Linked DNA regions of Homo sapiens: region 2 is linked to region 1. The links are contacts of gene promoters, found by promoter capture Hi-C in human tissues and cell types (Jung and others, 2019). All regions are on one chromosome and are shown on one strand. Each heading gives the region's core, a stretch centred on a gene start or on the middle of the fragment in contact. The rest is flanking DNA. Distances are from core to core; before and after follow the strand shown. Region 1 has its middle 6.4 kb from the start of APOL6. Region 2 holds the start of TXN2 (thioredoxin 2).

Region 1 (3,691 bases), core at 591-3,090:
CCTCTTTTTTTTTTGTCTTTTCTTTTTTTTTTTTTTTGGAGACGGAGTCTCACTCTGTCGCCCAGGCTGGAGTACAGTGGCACGATCTCAGCTCACTGCAACCTCCGCCTCTCGGGTTCAAGCAATTCTCCTGCCTCAGACTCCTGAGTAGCTGGGATTACAGGTGCCCACCACCACCCCCGGCTAATTTTTGTATTTTTAGTAGAGACGGGGTTTCGCGATGTCGGCCAGGCTGGTCTCGAACTCCTGACCTCAGGTGATCTGCCCTCCTTGGCCTCCCAAAGTGCTGGGATTACAGGTGTGACCCACCGCACCCAGCCGACTTCTTCCCCCTTAATTCAGAAGACTTCCTGGCCTCTCTGCAAATTTGCCTTGTCCTTAGACAGTAACCCTTGAGCTCTGCACAGCACAAGATAAGATAGGAATTTGAGTAGTTCTGTGTCAAGTCAAATACTTGCCTTCTTTCCCATGGGATTTTGGAATCTAAGCTTTAAGAATTTTAGAGACTTAAAGAAAAATAATCTTCACCTTAAATGCAGAAACGTGTGGGACCTCCTGGCAGCCCAGATGTGGCTGTCACCAGGCACTGCCTTGAGCCTAACCCTAACCAGCCCTTCTTCAGGGCCACAGTAGAGTATCCAGGCCCACAGTCAGAAGGAGCTGGCAGCATCCCAGGGCCATAGGGAGACCATCCTGACTGGATGCCAGGCAGCAACAACCAAATAAAACCCCATTTGCTTTGTGGCTTCTGCCCTGGTCCCACAACTTGCCAGTGCTTTCTGGCCCATTTGGCCTCTTCCCGGCTCCACACCTCCTCCATTGTCAGATGCTATGGTTTGCCCTCTTGCCCCAAAAACTGCTTCTCCTAAGGACTGGAGCTTGTGTTCTGTCCTACCTGCTTTGCTCATGGAGGACTGCTCAGTTTAGCTGCCAAGCCCCACCCCTCCACAGGCCCCCACCCTCTCTGGGATTCTGGTGCATGCGATTTTCTCCAACTCATTATATTTGAACCAGACCTACTATGAGCTGTGAAATTTAGGTCCCTCGGAGTCAACAAAGGTTCACTGTGCTAGGTGCTAACTGCCAAGGAGAAAAGATGTAGGTCCTGCTCTGATGTCACCTAGCAATGGGTAGAGAGGTGGGAGAGCTTAAGCTCATTGCCACTGAAGCTAAGTCCCTTAGATAAGGCAGGGGGCCAGGATGAGAGTGAGGGAAGACACTGAGAGCAACAGGAGGCAGCCAAAGGACCAGGCAGATGGGGCAGGTCCTTGGTGAAACCCTACCTTCAAGCCAAAACACAGCCTGAAGGCTGAAAGACCAGACTTCTGGTCCTGGATGAAACCCTCAACCCAGAGTGAGAACATCTGTTCCTGTTTGCCCACCCTTTCCCGATTGATTCTTTCTGAATAATGCTTTGTAGCAGTGGAATGTTGCCTTTTCTAATACTACCTACAGCCTGCCCCTCCCCCATTCTAAGCCTATAAAAGACCAGACTCAGCCACAGTGGAGGAACTTTCCTGCCTTTGGATAGGGGGGCCACCCACGTGTCACCTCTCCACTGAAAGCTGTTTCATCACTCAATAAAACTCCCCACCTTGCTCACTCTTCAATTGTCAGTGTATCCTCACTCTTCTTGGGTGCAGGACAAGAACTCGGGAACTGGTACACAAGCCAGACTCAACCACGGTGGGCCGACTGAGCAGGCCATCTCATGCAGCAGGTAGCATGGCCAAGAGAGGCCCAGGTGGGGCATTGCCGGCCAGAGGTCCCCGGCTTGCAAAGTGACCAAGAAAAAATCCTGTGTCAAAACCAATGTATATTTTTTGTGATTGGCCTTCTTGGGATGCAAGGGGCAGTCTGAAAAAACAATCCACAGGGCTGGGGAGCAAATAAGACTTGGATACAAAGCGACAGAGATGCAAAATACTCTTTGAATCATAGCATCTCAGCAAGAATCACAGAATGGTAGATTCTAAGGGTCATAGGATCACAGCCAAGAAAAGGACCTTGACTTATCCAGGGAGATCCCCTTGTTTTGCAGATGTGAAAATGGAGGCTTAGAGAGGGAGGGGCCCTGGTGTTTCAAGGGGAGCCTGCCCTGTCCCACACTCATTCCTGAAGGCTGAGGCTCCTCCTGCTGGAAGACACTCCCTTCTGGAGCATCATGAGGTCACAGGGGATCCCTGGCTAGCCAGCCAGAGCCCAGCTGCCCACACTTGCAGGGGAAACAGCATGTCCATAGCCACAGTGGGAGCAGAACTAGGTCTGCTGCTCCTCAGTGGCCTGGTGGACTTTCATCCCTGGCCACAGCAAGGCTTCCTGGAGCCACAGATTCAGATGGCCTGTGGACTTTCATCCTTGGCCACAGTGAGGCTTCCTGGAGCATGTCCAGCAGTTCCCTATGTACAGACACAAAGCCTCTGGGGGAGATAACACCATCTTCAGCCCAGCAAAGAGGGAGTCCCGATGGTCGTGGAGGGCAATTGCCAGAGGGGCCCATTCTCTGTGATGCATGTGGAGTGATGGGAAGCCCAAGCCTAGAGAGGTTATAGGAAATCCTAACATGGATTCTTCTAGCTGGAGCAGAGTGGCTGCTAAGCCAGGGTACTCAGGGCACCCAGAGGCTCCCACCTTGGAAGACCAGCTGCCAGGAACATGCCACTTCACAAAACGCTATCGGGGGTCTCTGGGCCACATCAGAGGTAGCCAGCCCTTTAATACCTGACACCCCCTCCCCCAGAGAGGGCATTCGCCAGCTGACTCCTACAGAAGAGCACCCCTTTTATTGGGTACCCTTTTTACCTCCCTCCAACCTCATGGCTCAGTGAGGACTTTCTGGATACTAGAATACTGCTTTTGTTATCGGAGAGGTAATGTAACCTGGACTGAGGGATCAGAGAACCAAATAACCCCAGCCACAGAGACCAGTGGGATATGGAACACAGGTTAACCTAGAGAGACCTTTCCAAAGAATTTTCTTACTGGATCTGGTGGGGAAAATGCTCTTGCATCTCCAATCCAGGAACTAGAAGGACATGAATTGTAATAGACTTGAAATTCTCTTCTTTCTGTTATGGAAAAAGCCCACCTGTAGTGGGACAGAATGAGGCTGGAAGAGAGAGAGAGAAAGAGAGAGAGAGACAGCGAGAGAGCTACAGTGGGGCTCCTGGTCCCTGAACCTGGAGCTGCCTGAAACCTTCTGGGTTTTCCTTTGATTCTGTGAACAGGTCAGTAGCTCTCGAGCATTCTATCTGTGACCCATTTCACAGTGCAATCCATAACACACACACACACACACACACACACGTAAGTGTGTGCATCATCACTATATGGACATAATTTCCATGAAACACTACTTATACCCTTATTATGTATGATATACTCTGATATTTTTTACTTTATCTCATTTCATTTTCTTTCTTTCTGTCTGTCTTTTTTTTTTTTTTTGAGATGGTCTGTCTCCCAGGCTGGAGTGCAGTGGCACAATCTCGATCACAGCTCACTGCAGGCTCAACCTCCTGGGCTCAAGTGATCCTCCCACCTCAGCACCCCCCATCCCCCATCCCCTCAACACACACACCAGTCTCTAGGACCATAGGCGCACCACCACACCCGGCTAATTTTTGCATTTTTTTGTGGAGACAAGGTTTCACCATGTTACCCAAACTGGTCTGACTCCTAGGCTCAGGCA
Region 2 (3,691 bases), core at 685-3,184, 840 kb after region 1:
CTTTTGTGTAGTTGGGTGTCTAGCCAGGCCCCAAAGATCTAGAAATGAAAAAGCCCAGGCTAAAATTCAGAAGGCCAGAGGGACTTAAATATCTCTAAAGCAAACTCAGATAGCACTGAAAGGAAACTCCTTCCTATGCCCTGTATGCTTGGGCACCACGGTAGTGACACCGATAACTTTTTTTTTTTTTTTTTGAGATGGAATTTCACTCTTTTTGCCCAGGCTGGAGTGTAATGGCGCGATCTTCAGCTCACTACAAACACTACCTCTTAGGTTCAAGTGATTCTCCTGCCTCAGCCTCCCGAGTAGCTGGGATTACAGGCACACACCACCACGCCTAGCTAATTTTGTATTTTTAATAGAGACAGGGTATCACCATGTTGGCCAGGCTGGTCTTGAACTCCTGACCTCAGGTGATCTGCCCGCCTTGGCCTCCCAAAGTGCTGGGATTACAGGCATGAGCCACCGCACCCGGCCGACACTGATAACTTTTTGCCAGCCCTTCTTGCGGTTTTCATGGCAGGATGTTAACATCAGCTTATCTGCAGGGCCAGGAACTGGTATACACCAAAAGCAAGGTGACAGTCATATTTTTCCAACTCTGGTCCATGCTAAAGATGACGCTGAGCTTTCTGGGGATTGAGAAACAGAACATGTGTTTCCCAGCACTAACAGTCAGCTTTGCAGACTGTTCACTTGTCTGTCTTCCACCAGACTGCATTCCCCTTGAGGGCAGGGACTGGGCCTGACCAGTCTGTATATTGAGTCTACATATGAGCAGCATAGAACATGGCCGTGGGACACAGCAGGCATTCAATAAATACTTGAACAAGTAGGACCCTAGTCTTCTGTGGACCCCCAATACTCACTGTGCGTGGAAATCCACAACCACTGGTGTCTCACTGTTGACCACTCGGTCTTGAAAGTCAGGTCCATCCTGGATATTAAAGGTTGTCAAGGAGATCCTCGTGGTGTATATTGTCCGGGCTGGGTTGGGTGTTACAGTCAGGCCACCAGGACTGCATTGTGGGGTCTGCAGGGCTCTGGAAGTGAGGGGTGGCCACTGACCCTGAGAGGGCTTCCTGGAGATGACAGAGGCCAGGAACCTCCTCAGAAGAAGTCGCTGAGCCATCTGTGAGGGAAAGAGGCAGAAGAACTGGGGCACACAAAAGGAAGTCGACACACTAGAAAAAGATTTGGGGAGTACTCAGGGCTCAGGAAGAGGCAGAGTTGGAAGCAAAATGCAAGGAAATCATATGTAAGATTTGTAGCGTGGAAGTGAGGAAGCAATGAGAATCAAAGGGAAGGAACAGCTAGGCAAACCAGAAGGACAGGAAAACTGGCTTCACAACCAAAAAGAAATCGGGATTTAGATTATAACGGAAGAATGGGAGGAAGAAACCAACAGATTTAATAATGTATGTAAGGACCAAGTACCTTACACACATTATTGGTCTTCCTACAGCAACTTCCAGGAAGTTGCTATTGTACTGCCCACACTGCGAGTAAGGGAAGGAATACGAGGCTCAAGTAAGTTAAGTGACATGCCCAAAGTAACCCCGCTATTAAATGACAGCCAACACTGGAACCCAGGGTCGTCTGAAAAGATGAAACGCAACAATTCAAGGAGGAACTAAGAGTGTGAGAGGAACCAAAAACGAAGAGACATGTACTGGAGGGAACCAATAAAGAAGGGACATGTGTGGAGGGAACTGGGAAAAATCGGACATCACCAGGGACCCTGGCTCTCCGGCGAGCTAGATCCCCCCGCCCGCCCGGCCGCCAGCCTGCGCAGGAACGCGCTCGCGGCATGCCTCAGCCGCGACACCACCTCGAGCCACCCCCACAGGGCTCCTACCTCCCTGCAATGCGAGCGGAGGGATGCACAGCCTAGCCCTCCCTGCCTGTCAAGGGCACGCCTGTCGTCACTTCCTCGGGGGGGGACGTACATAACGTCACTTCCGGGTACAGGCAGGCGGAAGAGCGTCCCTCTCCAATTTTTTTTTTTTTTTTTTTTTTTTTTGAGCCAGAGTCTCGCTCTGTTGCCAGGCTGGGGTGCAGTGGCGCGATCTCGGCTCACTGCAACCTCCGCCTTCCGGGTTCAAGCGATTCTCCTGCCTCAGCCTCCCGACTAGAGGCGCGCGCCACCACGCCCAGCTAATTTTTTTATTTTTAGTAGAGACGGGGTTTCACCACGTTGGCCAGGACGGTCTCGATCTTTTGACCTCGTGATCCGCCCGCCTCGGCTTCTCAGAGGGTTGTGATTACGGGCGTGAGCCACAGCGCCCATCTGTCCCTCTCCAATTTGAGGGGCGTCTGGGATTTTCCGCCAATGGGAATGGCGGGCTGAGGCACAGTTGAAGGGGCGGGGCCTCAGCTACGGACCGGAAGCAATGGGCAGGCCGTCGGGGAACGGATTGGAAGAGGCGGGCGGGCCCTGGTCTGGGCGAAGGCGGGGGCGGGGCGGGGCGGAAACGGAAGGGGTGGGCGGGCCCTAGAGGAGGGACCGGAAGAGGAGGTGATGGAGCAGGGGTAGCAATGGAGGGTACTTAAGGGAGAAAAGGCAGTTGAGAAGTCCCCGTGGTTTTGGATTTTGCAAACTCTTGTTGCTTTATTTTATTTACATATATTTATTTATTAATGACAGAGTCTCGCTCTGTCTCCCAGGCTACAGTGCAGTGGCGTGATCTCCGCTCACTGCAACATCCAAATCCCGGGTTCAAGTGATTTTCCTGCCTCAGCCTCCCAGGTAGCTGGGATTACAGGCGCGCGCCACCACGCCGGGCTGATTTTTGTATTTTTAGTAGAGACGGAGTTTCGCCATGTTGGCCAGGCTGGTCTGGAACTCCTGAGCTCAAGTGATCCGCCCGCTTCAGCCTCCCAAAGTGCTGGGATTACAGGCGTGAGCCACCTTGCCTGGCCTCCTGTTTATAACTGGCGCTGTCCACTTCCTACAGATGTTGACAGGTTCTGTTTCTCCATTTAATATGTAAAGCTAAGCTCCTCAAAGGCATGATGCCCTTTATATGTAAAAGAACTCAACCGGGAGTTTAGGGGCCATCCTTTAAGTGGCCCTCGTCTGTGTCCGCCTAAAGGAAAACAAATGAAAACTGAGGCGAGCCTAATTTAAGCAGGGAGTTTTTTTGGGTCAAGTTCGAAGACTGCAACTCGGAGCAGAGATTCAAGTTGTCCTGAATATACACTCGGATTAGCAGCAGCTGAAAGAGCGTTTTTAAAAGAACAGGCAGTTTCCAAATTGTTGATCAAAGTTTTTTTTTTTTTTTTTTTTTTTTTTGAGACAGAGTCTCGCTCTTGTTGCCCAGGCTGGAGTGCAGTGGCGCGATCTCGGCTCACTGCAACCTCTGCCTCCTGGGTTCAAGGGATTCTTCTCCCTCTGCCTCCCCAGTAGCTGGGACTACAGGCGTGCCTCACCACGCCTAGCTAATTTTTATATTTTTAGTAGAGACGGAGTTTCACCATGTTGGCTAGGATGGTCTCGATCTATTGACCTCATGATCTGCCCACCTGGGCCTCCCAAAGTGCTGGAATTACAGGCGTGAGCCACTGCACCCAGCCTTTTTTTTTTTTTTTTTGAGACGGAGTCTTGCTCTGTAGCTAGGCTGGAGTGCAGTGGCATGATCTTGGCTCACCGCAACCTCCACCTCCAGGGTTCAAGGGATTCTCCTGCCTC

Evidence for each region. Contacts are between HindIII fragments. The study calls those that stand out against the background at their distance.
Region 2: the fragment with the promoter of TXN2 here is called in contact with a fragment that was not itself captured in region 1 in 1 of the 25 tissues and cell types used here (neural progenitor cells).

The regions. Positions count from the first base shown.
Region 1 is chr22:35,640,220-35,643,910 of GRCh38, forward strand. No RefSeq gene overlaps it. Among named protein-coding and RNA genes, the nearest start is that of APOL6, 6.4 kb to the right of the region's middle. The HindIII fragment of the contact is 6,172 bases long and covers 1-3,691 here.
Region 2 is chr22:36,479,706-36,483,396 of GRCh38, forward strand. It overlaps TXN2 (thioredoxin 2), which reads right to left and starts at 1,935. Exons shown (of 4, transcript NM_012473.4): 1 at 1,859-1,935; 2 at 870-1,132. The coding sequence starts at 1,132. RefSeq lists an enhancer at 2,365-3,311. The HindIII fragment of the contact is 22,621 bases long and covers 1-3,691 here.